Regions from separate parts of the Homo sapiens genome. Here regions 2, 3, 4, 5 and 6 are each linked to region 1. Evidence: promoter capture Hi-C in 16 types of primary human blood cells and fetal thymus (Javierre and others, 2016). All regions are on one chromosome and are shown on one strand. Each heading gives the region's core, a stretch centred on a gene start or on the middle of the fragment in contact. The rest is flanking DNA. Distances are from core to core; before and after follow the strand shown. Region 1 holds the start of PEDS1 (plasmanylethanolamine desaturase 1). Region 2 overlaps PTPN1 (protein tyrosine phosphatase non-receptor type 1). Region 3 overlaps PTPN1 (protein tyrosine phosphatase non-receptor type 1). Region 4 has its middle 9.0 kb from the start of PTPN1. Region 5 has its middle 27 kb from the start of PTPN1. Region 6 has its middle 47 kb from the start of PTPN1.

What was found. The method cuts DNA at HindIII sites, captures the fragments that hold promoters and counts their contacts. A CHiCAGO score of 5 or more calls a contact.
Region 2: a contact is called between a fragment that was not itself captured here and the fragment with the promoter of PEDS1 in region 1, in 1 of 17 cell types (activated CD4 T cells). The highest score is 5.3, in activated CD4 T cells.
Region 3: a contact is called between a fragment that was not itself captured here and the fragment with the promoter of PEDS1 in region 1, in 1 of 17 cell types (activated CD4 T cells). The highest score is 5.0, in activated CD4 T cells.
Region 4: a fragment that was not itself captured here is called in contact with the fragment with the promoter of PEDS1 in region 1 in 1 of 17 cell types (monocytes); the score reaches 5.5 in monocytes.
Region 5: a contact is called between a fragment that was not itself captured here and the fragment with the promoter of PEDS1 in region 1, in 9 of 17 cell types (neutrophils, monocytes, naive CD8 T cells and 6 more). The highest score is 9.5, in neutrophils.
Region 6: a fragment that was not itself captured here is called in contact with the fragment with the promoter of PEDS1 in region 1 in 6 of 17 cell types (fetal thymus, total CD8 T cells, naive CD8 T cells and 3 more); the score reaches 10.7 in fetal thymus.

What each region holds. Positions count from the first base shown.
Region 1 is chr20:50,152,382-50,155,225 of GRCh38, reverse strand. PEDS1 (plasmanylethanolamine desaturase 1) reads left to right here and starts at 1,503. Exons shown (of 6, transcript NM_199129.4): 1 at 1,503-1,709. The coding sequence starts at 1,589. PEDS1-UBE2V1 (PEDS1-UBE2V1 readthrough) reads left to right here and starts at 1,503. Exons shown (of 8, transcript NM_199203.3): 1 at 1,503-1,709. The coding sequence starts at 1,589. RefSeq lists a silencer at 1,070-1,749. The HindIII fragment of the contact is 1,492 bases long and covers 1,331-2,822 here.
Region 2 is chr20:50,548,914-50,551,757 of GRCh38, reverse strand. The region is part of intron 1 of PTPN1 (protein tyrosine phosphatase non-receptor type 1); the gene reads right to left. Among named protein-coding and RNA genes, the nearest start is that of MIR645, 35 kb to the left of the region's middle. The HindIII fragment of the contact is 919 bases long and covers 1,107-2,025 here.
Region 3 is chr20:50,526,149-50,528,992 of GRCh38, reverse strand. The region is part of intron 1 of PTPN1 (protein tyrosine phosphatase non-receptor type 1); the gene reads right to left. Among named protein-coding and RNA genes, the nearest start is that of PTPN1, 17 kb to the right of the region's middle. The HindIII fragment of the contact is 1,185 bases long and covers 821-2,005 here.
Region 4 is chr20:50,499,925-50,502,768 of GRCh38, reverse strand. No RefSeq gene overlaps it. Among named protein-coding and RNA genes, the nearest start is that of PTPN1, 9.0 kb to the left of the region's middle. The HindIII fragment of the contact is 1,910 bases long and covers 466-2,375 here.
Region 5 is chr20:50,481,889-50,484,732 of GRCh38, reverse strand. No RefSeq gene overlaps it. Among named protein-coding and RNA genes, the nearest start is that of PTPN1, 27 kb to the left of the region's middle. RefSeq lists enhancers at 752-861, 902-951. The HindIII fragment of the contact is 1,648 bases long and covers 601-2,248 here.
Region 6 is chr20:50,462,045-50,464,888 of GRCh38, reverse strand. No RefSeq gene overlaps it. Among named protein-coding and RNA genes, the nearest start is that of PTPN1, 47 kb to the left of the region's middle. The HindIII fragment of the contact is 1,375 bases long and covers 811-2,185 here.

The DNA of each region.
Region 1 (2,844 bases), core at 254-2,753:
CATGTTGTCCAGGCTGGTCTCAAACTCCTGGCCTTAGGTGATCCACTGGCCTCGGCCTCCCAAAGTGCTGGGATTACAGGCCTGAGCCACCGCGTCCAGCCTGTATGGAATTTTTTTTTTTTTTTTTTGAGACGGAGTCTCCCTCTGTCGCCCAGGCTGGAGTGCAGTGGCGCGATCTCGGCTCACTGCAAGCTCCGCCTCCCGGGTTCACGCCATTCTCCTGTCTCAGCCTCCCGAGTAGCTGGGACTACAGGCGCCCGCCACCGCGCCCAGCTAATTTTTTGTATTTTTAGTAGAGACGGGGTTTCACCGTGTTAGCCAGGATGGTCTCGATCTCCTGACCTCATGATCCGCCCGCCTTGGCCTCCCAAAGTGCTGGGATTACCGGCGTGAGCCACCGCGCCCGGCTGCCTGTATGGAATTTCTATGAGAAATTATTGCATACTTTGTTGTCGGTTAGACCTGGGGTAAATCCCTGCTGCTGTCATTTATCTGCCGAAGTATTAGACGCATCTGGCTGAGCCTTAATTCATTCATCAAGCATTTATTGAGCTTCTACCATGTTCCAGCCCCGATCCTGGCACGGGGGCCCTGCTGTAAACAAAGCTGTTCTCTGCCCTCAGGAGCTTGCTCTCTGATAGGAGAGACAGGGACTGCAAGCTCAATCCCCACCAGAAGCGCTGTGAAGACAAAACAGGGTGATGTCACAGTGACTGGAGGAGGGGGCACCTTTGAGCAGGGTGGTGGTGGTGGGGCTCTCTGAGGAGGCAATACCATTGGTGTTTAAGAGTCAAATAAATGTTGCTCGTCTAGCTCTTGGTCCAGCACCTGACAGATATTAAGCGCTCAGCAAATCTCATAGTGACCCTAGTTGTCATTTTCATTAGTTTACTGTCCTCGCCACCGGGAGAACATGAGCTGGGGAGGATGCGGGGCAGGCTCGACGTTTCTCCTCTTTGGGCGCACAGCACAGAGCTGGCACACAGCTGATGAACACATGGCACCCGAAACCTCTGCACACAGTAGGGCTTGATAAACCAGCCCACTCTCCATCGGCCTCGCTAGGGAGCATCGTACAGAGCACCCGCCAAATGCTTCCTGGCCTCGGCCCCAGCCCGGCGCCCTGCCCTCGCGTTCCTTGCACACAGTGGGCGCTTAACGCTGCCGGCTCAAGAAATGCCCATTTCTGGGCCCTGCCTCGGCCCATTGCATGGGCCCGTGAACCGAAGCCTAGCTGGGCGGCGACGCGCCGCGAGCTCCCAGTGGGCTGGAGCCGGGAGCCCTGCCGGGGCTGAGCTGGGAAGGCGGGCACGCGCCTCCGCCCCAAGCTTCCGCGCCCAGCTGCGTCCAGCTGCGTCCCAGCCTCCGGCTCGCGGCGGTTGGCTGCGGCTCAGCGACGTCCGATTGGCCTGCGCGGCTCCGGCGCGAGCCCCGATTGGCTGTGACGCGCGGCCGGGCGAGGACCCCGCCCGCGCCGCCGCCGCGCCCGGCGCTGGGCGGTCATTGGGCGGCGTGATCTCGCCGCGGTTCCGCGGCCCTGCCGCCGCCGCCGCCAGCAGAGCGCACCGGGCCGATCGGGCGAGTGGCCATGGCGGGCGCCGAGAACTGGCCGGGCCAGCAGCTGGAGCTGGACGAGGACGAGGCGTCTTGTTGCCGCTGGGGCGCGCAGCACGCCGGGGCCCGCGAGCTGGCTGCGCTCTACTCGCCAGGTAAGACCTCTGGGCCCCCCTCCAGGCCTGCGGTCACCAGCCCCGGCTGCGGACAGCGACCCCAGACTGGAGTCCCAACCTCGGGCCCAGATGCGGAACTCCAGCCCGGGTGTCTAACTTGCAAATAGCAAGTTCGGGGACCCCACCCCAGTGTCCCTTCCGAACCCAAGCCAGAACCTTGGCCCCGGGGTTTCCTGGCTGCAGAGACACTCCCCAGATCAAGAAATTACCATGAGCTCCCTGGGCGACAAACGGAGCTCCCATCGGACCCGCAGATACGGAATCCTAGCCCCGGGGCATTCTCGGTTGTGAAGAGTGCTCCTAGACTTAGAACCCCACCCCCTCATCCCCCCAGGACCCGGTCCAAGCCCAAAGCTGCCCTTCAGCTGTAAGCACTGCCCTCAGGCCCCTAAAAGTCACACCTCATCCTGGGTTCCCCAGATCTGGAATCTACATCCTAGTACCTCCTCTGTGCCCTAGCCCAGGCCCTGGGCTGCAAACAATGACCTCACCTCCCTAACCTGGGAATGTCAGCCCCTCTGCCCAGGGAACCCTAACTCAGGGGCTTCCAGCTGCACGGTACCCCCCACACCCTTCCCCCAAAACCCCATCCTAGTGATAGCTTCAGTGGCTACAGACCGATATCCTCTCCCCAACCCTCCAGTGGTGAGCATCAGTCCTTGCCCCATATTCCTGGATCCCAGGCAGTGAGGGGACTGAATGTACCCCACTGTAAGCTCCCCTGTACATAAGCCCCAACTCTAGCTCTTGCCCCTCCCTCACATCCATGTATTGGCCCCTTCCTTAGGACTTGGGACTGGAACCCCCATATTCCCCAGACCAGATCATAAGTTGGAGTTCACCTCTCCCTCTCTGTCCCTTTCCCTCAGGCCACGGTTTCTCCCTAGCTTCTTCCTGCTTTGCTCACTGTATATGCTCCAGCAAGCACCCCCCCTACACCCACTTTTGTGACTCCTACGTGAGCCCTAGGAATTTTACTGTTTGGCCTCAGGAGGGCCCTATATCCCCAGGAGTTAAGGAAGTGCCTTTGAGAACTCCTGGTTCAGGTGACTGGGAGGCACCTCTACCTGGGTGTCACCATGGAATGAAGCTTTGTTTGTCAAATATCCTGACA
Region 2 (2,844 bases), core at 317-2,816, 400 kb before region 1:
GGGCTGGATCACACTAAATTAGAAATTTTACCAATGGGAAATAGTATCAACAGGTAACAAACAGGTTCTTTACGGATCTCTCCTTCCCCCAGTCCACACCTCAGTGGTTTTTTAAGAGCCTCCTTTCTCTTAGTGTAGATTTCAGAAATGTGATAGAATAAAACGCCACACATCATAGATGTCAAATGTGTACGGCTCTCCCAGAGTGCACGCCTGATCATGTGCTCCTGAAGCAGGCTTGGGTGTGCCCAAAGCTTACAGGTAAATGGTTTCCATTTCACTGTATCATTTTACATAGGCATCAGGCACACAAAGTGATCTGAATCATTTCTGTGGTAAACCATTGTCATGAGAGAAAAAAGCAAGTCCTTCCAAAGTTATGATTTAGCTAGGCTAGGAAGATTCACAAGCACTTGATCAAGTTTAAACAAAGCATCTGCTGAGCTGGAGATTTTAAAAGGGGCAAGGAGGGGCAGAAACCTTCTTCACCTGAATAGTTTTTATAGCTCTTCCTCATTTCCCATCCTTCCCCACTCATTTAAGAAGGTAACAGATGATCTCCCAATGAACACAAAGGGGTAACATGCTTACAAAACTCTGGTAACAGAATGAATTAGAGCCTGGAGTTAATTAATTTTTATATTTATTCAGGAAAGCTCATTATCCATTATTCAGACACCTCCCAAACTCAATTAGGCAAAAAGTCAAACTTGGGTGAAAAGCTGGCAATATTTGATTAGAGATTTCTATTTCTCCTGAAAACACACAGGCATAAAAGCCAGTTTATCCTTGCGGAAATATTTCCATGTTTATATTAAGCACTTCATCAAGTGAAACATCACAATCTGGGTTTAACACCCTTCTCCTCGGTCCACAACTGGGTGAATGTCTCTTACGGGCTCCATGGTAAAATGCATTACTCATTTTAAAGCTATCTGCTAAGTGAAGAAGTAGAGGCAGCAACCCATTAGCAGCCAGGAGTCTGAGAAGAAGTGCTTTGGACTCTCATCTTAGTGTCCCCTCCTAACACAGGCCCAGGCCCAGGGTAGGCACTCAACATAATTTTGTTAACTGAATCAATGGATACTTCAAAGGTTCCCAAAGCTTGAAGTGTCCTTAACAATATACCAACATTCTTTATAGAACAGAAGTGCTCCTGAAAGGGAATGTGTATAAGCAAATATCTGATCCAATCCTATTTTCTCAATTACTTGTTACAAAATGGAAATTACTGAAATCACATTTATTTTATTTATTTGCAGTTGACCCACACAGCCTTCTGACCAAACAGTGTCAAAATAGTTACTAAAACATGGATTCAAAGCAGAAAGAGTAATTTTTGAAAGTGATCTCTGTTTTAAAAGTCTGAAGGAATAAAAAATTCCAAGGGTACCTTTTACTCACTGGAACTTCAGGGAACTACAAAGTCCCTTAGCACCCATCACATCTTCTAAGATCTCCCGGAACCTCCATTCTACAAATGGTTATCTAATTTGATTGTTCGGGTTGTTACCTGGTTCTTCAGGGAAGCTACTGGCTTTCAGAAATGTACAGACAGAGCTAGATTGAAGGGAAATGCAGAAATATAGTAAAGGCAATGATTTAAAATGCAGTAAGTGAACACACAGTGTACATTTCCTGGAACTCTTGCAGTAGTCGCTGAATAGGGAGATATATATAGAAGGGGGGGTGGGGTAACTAGCATAAAATTTTAGAAACCAGATCTTCAAAGTAATGCATGTTGAACAAATTTTGTTAATCACAAATCTCATTATAAATGAGAAAATTTCTATGTAACAAAGTATACTCCGAGGAATATACAAATCATCAGAGGTTCAATGTCTTCCAGGTCAAAAGCAATGCTATATATGAAAGTTAATGAAACGATATAATTTACTACAAAAACCTTAGGAAAATATTTTTATTATATTTATGTGTACATTCATATAAGCAATATGAAATAAATCATATACTTAATATGAAATGCTAAGATAAACTACACTGTTTAATAATAAAGAAAAAGCTTAAAATTAAGCTAATCAGTACCAAGTCTGTTTTGGTTTAAATTTTAAAATGACTATGTACTGAATAAGAACACATACTAAAAAGCAAACCAGAATCTTTTGGTTTGGTGATAGTTGAATGAAAGACAGGGGTTGAGGGGAGGAAGGGGCAAAACTGGTCAGCATTGAAAAGGCAGCAGGATACCAAGTAACTGTCCCTGCCACAGCTGGAGGAAGCGTTGGGTCCGCTTGTACAGTGGTCTGGGGCAAGGTTAATAGATAATGGAGCTACAAGTCACTAACAGAACAATTATGTGCACTTGGAAAACTACGTGGAAAAAAAACAATCAACTGCTTTACAAACTCCCCACAAATCAAGGGATAAGGGCAGGAATGAGGGCATGAAAAATGCTTCGTGAAACTGGCATGGAGACCTTCTGGTGGAGAGGGTGGGGCTGCTTTCACACTCTGATGTACACCCACTGCTCCAAATATAAAACAATGGTCAATTAAATTTAGAGAAAACCATAAAGGCACAGCTAGGCTCAAAAACAGCATGAGAATAAAAACAAAACAAAAGGCTCCCAACTCAAAATGACCTAGAAGCAAGGTATCAAACACAGAAGACAACTAGTTAGTTCTACAAATGATAACCAACAAATCAACTAGAACAAAAATCCATTCCATATGCAATTTATTGTATAGCTTGTTGGGGACTTTAAAAATAAACATACTTGGGCCAAGCGTGGTGGCTCATGCCTGTAATCCCAGCACTTTGGGAGGCCAAGGCGGGCGGATCACTTCAGGTCACAAGTTCAAGACCAGCCTGGCCAACAGGGTA
Region 3 (2,844 bases), core at 164-2,663, 370 kb before region 1:
CGCTGAGAAATGGTATACAATCTCATGGGGGGAAAACACCACATACAGAAAATTACTATAAAAAGGAACAGAGAAAACAAAGTGTAAAATCTAAATTGATCCTGGGTAACACATGGTTCAACACAATACCATCAACTCAAAGCCTCCCTAGCAATCACGGTTTCCAATTCATGAACCTTCTAAACAGCATTCTCATCTATTCATTCAGGAACTACTTATTGGGTATTTTCTTTCTTTTTTCTTTTTTTTTTTTTTTAAGATGGAGTCTTTTTTTTTTTTAAGATGGAGTCTCACTCTGTCACCCAGGCTGGAGTGCAGTGGAGTGATCTCAGCTCACTGCAACCTCCACCTCCCCAGTTCAAGTGATTCTCCTGCCTCAGCCTCCCAAGTAGCTGGGACTACAGGCACCCGCCACCACGCCTGGCTAATTTTTGTATTTTTAGTAGAGACAGGGTTTCACCATGTTGGCCAGGCTGGTCTCAAACTCCTGACCTCAAGTGATCCGCCCACCTCAGCCTACCAAAGTGCTCGGATTACAGGTATGAGCCACTGCGACTGGCCTTGTTGGGTATTTTCTATATGCCAAACACTATATTGGGTACTAAGAGATACAAATGACTAGAACAAAAGCAGCCCCGCCCTTTATAAGACTTGATAGATTACTTGGCAATAGGTAAGTAAACAGGCTATTACAGAGCAATGCGTGTTATTACAGTATACTCAGACATGGTGCTATGAAAGGAGGCCTTCAGAGGGCCATGGGAGGACCTAGACAAGGCAGTTAACTTGGACCTGTGGAAAGGGGAAATCAGAGAAAGCTTCCCAGAAGAAATGTACAAAATGTGACTGGAAAGAAGAACGAGAATCAGTTAAGTAAAAGGTAGGATATTCCAGGCAGAGGAAACAGCATATGCAAGGCTCCATGAGAGGCAAAGACCACCACAATTTCAGGAACAAAGTGCCTCTGAAGGCTGTCCCATAGTGCACAGTGTATGTGTGCACACTGAATTCAAGGGCCGATGCTACATCCTGGGTGAGTGAATGAGATGGCTCAAAAAGAACAAAAGGGCTAAATGAAAGCAGCAGATTGGGTAAACCCTGTAGGAACTCCTCAAGTTGAGGAACAAACAGAGAAGACACCGATGAGTAAGGTCTAGGACTAGCTAGAGAAGCAGGAGATATAAAAGAAAAGGAAAAAATAGAGTTATTAAAACAGGGAAGGGAATATTCAATATGCAAATACAGGTCTACCACACTGAACTGCATTAAAATTAGGATGCAAAATATCCACTGTATTAGTAACAAGGAAGCAGATCTTGTCAAGAATTATTTCAGGCCAGGTGCGGTGGCTCACACCTGTAATCTCAGCACTTTGGGAGGCTGACGGGTGGATCACTTGAGGCTAGCCTGGCCAACATGGTCAACATGCCAACAAGCCTGGCCAACATGGTGAAGCCCCATCTCTACCAAAAATACAAAAAATTAGCCAGGCGTGATGACAGGCACCTGTAATCCCAGCTACTCAGGAGGCTGGGGCAGGAGAATCGCCTGAAGCCGGGAGGCAGAGGTTGCAGTGAGCCAAGACTGCGGCACTGCACTCCAGCCTGGGTGACAGAGCAAGACTCAGTCTGGAAAAAAAAAAAAATTATTTCAGTGGCTTGGTAGCATAGAGCCTCACTTCCCTGGAAGATAAACACACAGAGTGACTGGAAGATGAACGATGGGCAGAGTGACCTATTTACTTCAAAAATTTCAACCAGAGAAGGAGAGTATAAAGCAGTGGCTGGAGGGGCCGTCTCGGCTGGAGGAAGCTGAGAACGTTGAACTGGCATACATAAGATGATAATAGGGAGGGCCTGGGATCCATTCCTCGAGAGTCACCAACCCCTTATTGCAAGATGCCTTGAACAGGTGAGATGGGAAGGGGTCAGGAGCGCAGACTCTAGGAGCAAAGGCTCCTTTTCCCCTGTGAGAGAAATGAGGTGGAAAGGATGGCAGGTAAGCTTTAGATCTGATGGCCAGATGCTGGGGGAGACAGATTTGGGATTAAAGACTGGATTTCTAGGGGCTCAATACTGGGGGATTTTTTTTCCAGCAGCGCTTAGGAGCCTGGGCCCAGGAAGACAAAGACAGGGGAAGAGCCTGCTCCAGGGCTAGAGGTGGTAGGTAAGAAGATGGACACAAGTACAGTGGAGAGGCAGCATCTAAAGTGACTGACCACAGTCTCAGATGCATAAGGAGGGAAGTGAGGAGGCTGCGGTGGGGGGAGGAGAGAAACAGCTGGAAATCTGAATAAAGGAGAAAACCCAAACTAGAGAAAGCAACTGAGCGAGGGAATCTGGCAGCACAGAGGCTGTAACTAGAGAGCAGAAGGTCTGAGCTTAACAGTAGGTCAAAGGTAGAGACTATCTCAACTGCCAGGGAAGGAAATAGCTGGAAGAGAGGAACAGGAAGTTCCCTGGGACATGAGGTGATGATGCTGGGTGGGCTGCCCAAATGCACTGACATGGGCCAGGGGTGACAGAAGCCTTGATATGGAAAGACAGGTTGTGAGCCAGGTAAACTAAGGGGAGTAGGGAATGCTGCAAACAGGCCCATTTAAAATACAACTAAGCTGGGCATGGTGGCTCACACCTGTAATCCCAGCATTTTGGGAGCCCGAGGCGGGAGGATCACTTGAGTTTAGGAGTTCAAGACCAGCCTGGACAACATAGTTAAGACCCTGTACCCCACCAAAAAAATCATTAAAAATAAAATTAAATTAAATACAACAACAGAAGGCAAGCAATTAAGCAATTCCCCACTATGGCAATTTATTGACTAGAAAGCTTAAGTCCTAAGATA
Region 4 (2,844 bases), core at 171-2,670, 350 kb before region 1:
GGGATTTAAATCCCTGATTTAATCCCAGATGCAGCCTGATTTCAGCATCTATATTCTCAGCCATGAAGCTATACAGTCTCTCCAAGGACTCCCATGAGCTCTAAAAACAATAGTAATAACAATGAGGATAATAATAACGATAATCATTCATTAACACCACCACTCTGGAGCCTGTACTATTGTGATCTCCATTTGAACCGTGGCACAGAGAGGTTAAGCAACTTGCCCACAGTCACACAGATGAGAAATGGTGGAGTCAGGATTTGAACCCAGTTCAGCTCTATTTGCTGCTTCTAGTTCTGAAACTATATTAAATATATGAGTTCTGCACTATTTCAGAACTCACGGGAAGGTTAACAGCCCAGAATCTCCCACTCACGTCTCTACTGGGCTTCATTTTTACTGGGCTTCATTTTTAATGGGCGACTCCCCTGCCTCTCTACCACCCGGAAGACATTTTAAGCTTTACAGCAAGTCATTAAAAAGAAACAAAAATAAATGCGTAAACATAATCCCACGCTGCCTGTCTGGTAAGAGCAACTTCCCCGGTGGGGGAGGAGGAGGCATTCAGGGGGAACTAGGGGAATCACATGTGTTCTGAGAAAGGAGGGTCAGAGATGTGCGGGAAAGTTCAAGGAGGGAAGTTGGATCCAAAGATGGAAACCGGTCCCAGCTCCATGCTTTCAGCAAAGGAGGAGTCTGGGGAGGGTTTCCAGAGGCCCCTACAACATCCTCCACACTCTAGTTTGCAGGGCTGAGGCTTGCGGGGGCACTTTCACTGTACACATGGTGGTTCTGGGTGTGGGTTCTGGAATTAGGCTGAATTGGGCTCATGTGCCCTTGGGCAAGTTCCTTACCCTCTCCAATCCTTGGTTTTCCATCTTTTACAGAATGCAGGGATGTGATGATTAAATGAGAGTATGTGTGTAAAGCACTCAGCCTGGTCTCTAGTTCACAGCAAGGACTCAAAAATTTTGCTGTTGTTCTACAGTTGTGTAAGTTGCTGAGTGGAAAAAAGCAAGCTACCATCTGTCTTCAGAAGTTTTTCATAATATATATTGCAACCTGCAATTTTACAACCCTATTTTTTGTTCTGCTGCTGTAGGTGAACTTGGCTGGTTTCATGGGTGTGTGTGCAACCTGTGTGATTGCAGAGTCCCGAGCTCAGAAGGGGCCTGCACTTGTTTGCTCTGCTGTCTTTGTCTTGAAATTCTTTTGTTTGTTTGTTTGTTTCTTTGTTTTTGTTTGTTTTTGAGACTGAGTCTCGCTCTGTTGTCCAGGCTGGAGTGCAGTGGCGTGACCTTGGCTCTCTGCAACCTCTGCCTCTTGGGTTAAAGCAATTCTCCTGCCTCAGCCTCTCGAGTAGCTGGGATTACAGGCACCTGCCACCATGCCCGGCTAATTTTTTTTTTTTGTATTTTTAGTAGAGACGGGGTTTCACCATGTTGGCCAGGCTGGTTTTGAACTCCTGATCTCAAGTGATCTGCCCGCCTCGGCCTCCCAAATTGCTAGGATTACAGGTGTGAGCCACCGCACCCAGCCTTGAAATTCTTAATAATTTTTTTTTTTTTGAGATGGAGTCTTGCTCCGTTGCCCAGGCTGGAATGCAGTGGTGCAATCTTGGCTCACTGCAACCTCTGCCTCCCAGTTTCAAGAGATTCTCCTGCCTCAGCCTCCCGAGTGGCTGGGATTACAGGCACCCACCACCACGCCCGGCTAATTTTGGTGTTTTTAGTAGAGATGAGGTTTCACCATGTTGGCCAGGCTTGTCTCAAACTCCTGACCTCAGGAGATCCACCTGCCTCGGCCTCTGAAAGTGCAGGGATTACAGGCATGAGCGACTGTGCCTGGCCGAAACTCGCAATAATGTTTGAACAAGGAGCCCCGCATATTCATTCTGCATTGAGCTTATGTAACCAGTTCTGGAGGTGAAGTCTAGTTTTTCAAGTTTTTGAAGGGGATTTGGAGCCATTTTTGTCTTTGAAGATGAGAATGTTCTTCCATTATTCTGGGAGAAATCACTGCTCTTGGGGAGAATCCTAAGACAGTGATATTATCCAGATGCAGATTCCCCATGTTGAGTTGTTTCTTATTGTTTAATAATACTAGTTATGTTAGCTACATGTATTGGGCTTTGACGAAAGACTAGGCTCTGCACTAAGCTAGCACTTTACCTTTATCATCTCTCTACATCTTCCCAACAACCCTGTAAGAGAAACTGTCATTAACCTCATTTCACAGATGAGGAAACTGAGGCTTGGAGTGATACATGACTTGCCCACTGTTGCACACCAGCATTGTGATAATGCATGTAAGTTGGGTGGATCTGTACTAGGACCATAGCCTTTTAGAAAAGAGGAATGAATTTCTAAGCTTTGATTTAGCTAGAAGGGTTCCTGAAGTCCTTGGGAAAGATGTGTACCTTTTTGACCAAGTATTTGCTCCAGCAGTTTCTGTATTTGAAGATGAAACTGGTCTTCTGTTTGAGACTTGACTGTGCAGAGAAGAGGCGCTGACCTGAACTTTCCTTCCCCTTGTGCTGGTGGGAAGCCCTTGGAGAGGACTCTGATTTGGAATAACTGAAAGTGGAGGGACCCGGGCTTAGGGGATCGCACTTACAACTCTTGTGATGGCCTCATCCAGGCCACAGGGAAGTGAGCTGCAAGGGGAACCACATGGGGAATTGTACTTTCTTCAGGAGGACATGGATATTCCCACTGCCCATATCCTGGGGTAGGCAAGGAAGCCAGACTCACTGTGGGAAGGGGAGGGCCTTTTGCTTTACCTGGGGCAAAGAGGAGAAAGAGGGGGTCCTAAATTCTAGGGAGAAGAAGTTAGGCAGCC
Region 5 (2,844 bases), core at 175-2,674, 330 kb before region 1:
TAATGCCTATTGTCACATGGATCTCGTCCTAAAGGCACTTCCTTGTGGGTATGCCTAGATTCTGTTTCCTTGTTACATGTTTTCGTATCTGCCTTTCTTATTTACCACAGTGGTTCTCAACTGGGAGTGATTTTGCCCCCCAGGGGCCATTTGACAATGTCTGGAAACATTTTTGGTTGTCAAAACCAGGGTAAGAATGCTACTGGCATCTAGTGGGTAGAGGCCAGAGACGCTGCTAAATATCCTACAATGCCCAGAACAGCCTACAGGAATGATCCAGTCAAAATTTCACTAATGCGGAGGTTGAGAAACCTGTATCACAACGTAATCAACTAATTGCTTTTTATGGCTGCCTTCCTGTTCCCATCTCACTCCCCCACTTCCCCATCTAGGCTTCCCTTACCCCCTCCTCGCCATGTGTATTTAGCTGTTTAATGCCTCCTTTTCCTGCTAGAGTATAAAGCCTAAGGGGCAAGGATTGTGTCTGTCTTGTTTTCTATATATTGCGTATCATAGGTGCTTAATAAATGTGTCAAATGAATAAAAGAGCAAATGAAAACTATCTTTCATAAAGCACATCTTTAAGGACACCAGAAAGCTTTCCTCTTGACTTCTGTCTTGGTAACTCTAAATATTATTTGGAAAAAAAATAAACAAGGTGGTGGGGAGGAGGGAGAGGGAGAGAAAAGCAGAGAAGAGGAGGACAAGGAGAAAAGGAAGAGGGAGATAGAGAACACTGTCTTTGTAGACTCAATCTGAGCTGGAATTCCAGCACTTAACTGTCACATAGTCAAGAGCAAGTCACTTTCCCTCTCTGAGCTCGTTTTTCTCAACTGTACAATGGGAATCAGAAAACGAAAGTAACTGTGCTAATGGCTGGCAACTACCCTGCACTTTATAAATGTTAGTTTTGTTCCTTTCTTCCTTTCCCCTCCTTCTCCTAAGTTTCCTGGCCAGCATCAGTGCTCACTCATCCTCCTCAGCCCACTCAAGAGAGCTGCCTGAAGCTAGATGGACAGTTCTATAAATGCTGGTGACGTATACCCAACCTCCGGCACCCGCATCTCTCTGCCCAGAGCCTGTGTGCTTCATGTGCGCATGGCAGGTCACATGTGTGGGAAGGGAAGTGTACTGGAGTTGCTGGCCCCGGGCACCACCTTCAACCGCTGAGAGTGGTCATTGCGGATAAACAGCACAGTTTCCCCAACCCTTCCTGAGACAATCTTGCGGTATACTCCACATCATCCCCTGAGGGCCCCTCTGGGACTGTGCCCCAGTTGCCCATAAAGGTAACTAGCTCTTTTTTTTGTTTGTTTGTTTGTTTTTGAGACAGAGTCTTGCCCTGTTGCCCAGACTGGAGTGCAGTGGCATGATCTTGGCTCACTACAACCTCTGCCTCCCGGGTTCAAGCAATTCTCCTGCCTCAGCCTCCCAAGTACCTGGGATTACAGGCACCCACCGTCACGCCCGGCTAATTTTTGTATTTTGTTTCACCATGTTGACTAGGCTGGTCTTGAACTCCTGACTTCAGGTGATCCGCCCTCCTCAGCCTCCCAAAGTGCTGGGATTACAGGCATGAGCCACTGCGCCTGGCCAACTGCCCAACTTCTAACTGGTAGTATGTGCATCTTTTTCTATGAGTTTTTTGGGTTTTTTCTTCTGGTTGTCAGAGTCAAGCAGCCTAAAGGAGGTTGGAGAATGAATATTCCTTCTCTTCTTTCCAGCTGCCTTCAACCAAGGAATGGATAGAGGTGGTGTATAAATACCCCAGCTTCCTGATTGTTTTGCAGTGGGCAGGTCTATGCAAACTTACCCCAAAGTCCAAGGAAGCTGAGAGGCTGAAGAGATGATGCTGACATACTCAGTTCCTTAGAAAGAAACTTTTAATAGAAACTTAGAAACAGATGCCACGTCTGTGTCTCCTGCGGTGGCCAGACAAGATGGTGGATCCCCACTCCATTATCTCCCAGACCCAGGGCTTCTATACCATAGGAGAGGGGTGGTTCAGAAGGGATGTGTAGAACAGTTGAAGTAAGATAACATCAAGGTTGTTTGACCTAAGGACAGGATATAGAGTCAGAACCTGCTCTTACACAAGGAATAATAGATAAACTAGAAATCTTAGAGGCCTTCTTGGAACAGGGGTTAATCAGAAGCCAACATGGCGGATTAGCTTCCAAGATGGAGTTGCTGATCCTTCAGGTAAGATAACTCTGAGACATGTGTTCTACACAGGTGGAATTAAGCTTCACTTGCCTAGGGCAGTAACTGTCTTGATAACTTGCTTAATATTGGTTGTCCTCCTTTCCCTGGGTCTCTTTTCTTCTCTACTCGTATTTCTTTTGCCTTCCAAAGAAGTGATGTGTCCTTGAGTCTTTGTCTCAGGGTCTGTATCTAGAGAATCTAAACTAAGATATGAGGTGTGCCAACAGGGGATTCCAAACTAAGACACTTATCAATTAGATCCAATTGCAAACGGTCTTGCTTTAAATCTCCCCAAAAGAACAGAATGGGACATGCTGTTCTTCAACTAAACAGCACTCCTGTTTACCATCTGGGGCCAAACCACGGGGCTCCTATTCCCTGAGTGGAAGGACCTCATCTTCCCATGGTATTCACAAGGCTCACACCCCACCTTTTCATACATAAATCACCCCCTTTATTTCACATGAACATCTTTGTTGTATTTTGCAGAAAGTTACCCTTACTGAAACACAGAGGACGCTCTGTTGGTAGCTTTGGAAATGGCCCTTGGGGCTCCAGCTGGGAGCATCTCATGTTCTTGTTCCTACGTAGTTACTTTCTGGGGATAGTCACACATGTTGAATGTTGGCAGGGAAGAGT
Region 6 (2,844 bases), core at 249-2,748, 310 kb before region 1:
CTGCCGCCTAGATGCCATCAGAATGATTGACAGAGAATGAAATGTTATTTGATACTGGGGTGCTGTGCCCACCAAGATCTCCCCACGAATCCCACTGGTATTTGTTCTATACTTTGGAAGACCCAGCTTCAGAATCGCTCTAGGGGAGTAGAGAAGGAAACTCAGTGTCTGAGGGAGGGATGATAATGACAGCCACCTGTTAGGGGTGCCGCTATGTTGCACAGTTTCATGAATGGGGCCCCTGAAGTTGTGCAACATGGCGGTCCTGGAGAGAATCTCTGCGGGTTACCTCATTTAATTCCCACCTCCGCTCTGCCAGGTAGGCAGGATTACCTCCATTTCGCAGCTGAAAAAACTCAGATTCAGGGAAGTTCAGTGCCTGGCTCAGGACCGCAGCTGGAGGGGTCGGGGAGAGGCTCTAACCCTCCGGCTTGAAGGTGTAGTTTCAGACTTGGCCACTTGGTGTCACTCTCTCCAAACTGTCGGAAGAACCTCTGAGCTGGCCGGTTTGTGGGGGACTCCGGGCCCAGCTAGTTGCACACTGATCCCCAGTCCGGCAAAGCGGCCCCTCCTGTCCTCCCTCCGCCCTGTCACCCTTGCGGGGTGCAGAATTTCTGCCTGTTCCCTGTTTGAACTGGGTCTCTGAGTACGCCTGAGCCAAGTACTTCACAGGCATGATCTCACTCGAGCCTGCCAGCAGCAATGTGGTCTCAGACTACAGATGAGGAAACTGAGGCCAACGGCGTAGGAGCAACTTGCCCAGCTAGTAAGTGGCAGTCAGAGTTTGAACTCAGGTCTGAGTTAGAAGCTTGGCGTTTTGATGCCCAGAAAGTGCATGGTAGGACAGTTGTATTAATTCTCGATTTTTCATAGAATATATTTCCAACCCACTCCTCAGTCTCTGTAATGTCCTTGGCAATGAAAATAATCTGCCTGTTTAGAGAAGTGTATGTGTTTTTGGTCTTTTCTTTTTTTCATGTAGAAGTTAGTTTTCCCCTGACTACCAAGAGAACACTGAGGTGTTTACTTACTTAATTTTTAAAAAAATTATCTGAATATACCTTGATAATTATTTATTTTATTTTATTTTATTTTATTTTAAGACGGAGTCTCGCTCTGTTGCCCAGGCTGGAGTGCAGTGGTGTGATCTGGGCTCACTGTAACCTCTGCCTCCCAGGTTCAAGTGATTCTCCTGCCTCAGCCTTCTGAGTAGCTGGGACTACAGGTGAGCACCACCACACCCAGCTAATTTTTTTTTTTTTTTGTATTTTTAGTAAAGACGCGGTTTCACTATGTTGCCCAGGCTGGTCTCAAACTCCTGGGCTCAAATGATCCTCCTGCCTCGGCCTCCTAGAGTGCTAGGATTTACAGGCATGGGCCACCACACCCGGCTGGTAATTATTTTTTTAAATTAGAAAATCTAAGTAAAAAGAACAAAATATAGCCAGAAGTGGTGGTGCATGCCTGTGGTCCCAGCTACTTGGGAGGCTGAAGCTGGAGGATCACTTGAGCCTAGAAGATCAAGGCTGCAGGGTGCTATGATTATGCCACTGTACTCTAGCCTAGGTGACAAAGTGAGACCCTGTCTCTGTATTTTTTAAAAAGAACAGACCGGGCACAGTGGCTCACACCTGTAATCCTAGCACTTTGGGAAGCTGAAACAGAGGGATCGTTTGAGCCCAGGAGTTCAAAACCAGCTTGGGCAACTTAGTGAGACTTCGTCTTTACAAAAAAAAATTTAATTAAAAATAAAAAATCAGCCAGGCATGGTGGCAAGTGCCTATAGTCCCAGCCACTCAGGAGGCTAAGCTGGGAGGATCACTTAAGCCCAGGAGGCAGAGGTTTCAATGAGTGGTGATCGCATCACTGCACTCCAGCCTGGGTGATAGAGCAAGATCTTGTCTCAAAATAAATAATTGATTAGAGAAATAATAAAAAAAGAACAAAATAAAAGTCGCTTCTAATTCACATCAGCCACCCAGAGATAAGTGCTATTGACACGTTGGAGCATATCCTTCAAGGCATTTTTCTCTCTGTCATCTATCAATGCATTAAAAAGTTCCATTTTTAAAAACTAACAAGGGATTGTATTCATATGCAAAAATTCAAAAGATACCAAAAGATTTACAGTGGGTCTTCTCCCTCTAATCCTTAACCCCCATCCCCAGCTTTAAAACTCCAAGCTTCCCTCCCCAGAATCCATTCTGGTTATCATTTCTTGGGGATCATTACAGAGACATCCAGAACACAGATAAGCAAATATGTGCGTGGATTCCTGTACTCATTTCTCTAAATAGAAGCACACCACACACCCTGTTCTGCACTGGGATTTTGTTTTTTTCAACTTAGCAATGTACCTTGGCAGATCTTTCCAGATCAGCACTAGGAGAGCATTCTTTGCACATTCCATTGTCTGAATATAATAATTTATCTAACAAGTTTTCTGGTGATAGTCACGGAGGTATTTCCAGGGTTTTTCTGCAACAAACAATGCTGCAATTAGTATCCCTTTCACAGAAGTCTTTCCATGTATTCAGAGCTATTTCTGATGGATACATTCTTAGCAACTGAATCGCCCAGTCATAGGGCAGGTGCGTTTAAACATTTTGACGCTGGTTGTCTAAATGCTCTCTAAGGTTGTACCTACCAATCGTCATTTGCACCGGCAACCTCCGTGAGCTCTGGTTTCCCCACGTCCTAGCCAAGGCCAAGTATGATTGGACTTCTTGATCTTGGCCTTGCCGATAGGGGAAAAAGGTGTTCACCATAGTTCTAATCTACATATTCATTGTTTATATGTTAGATTGGACATTTAAAAAATACGTTCAAAGACTGTTTATATTT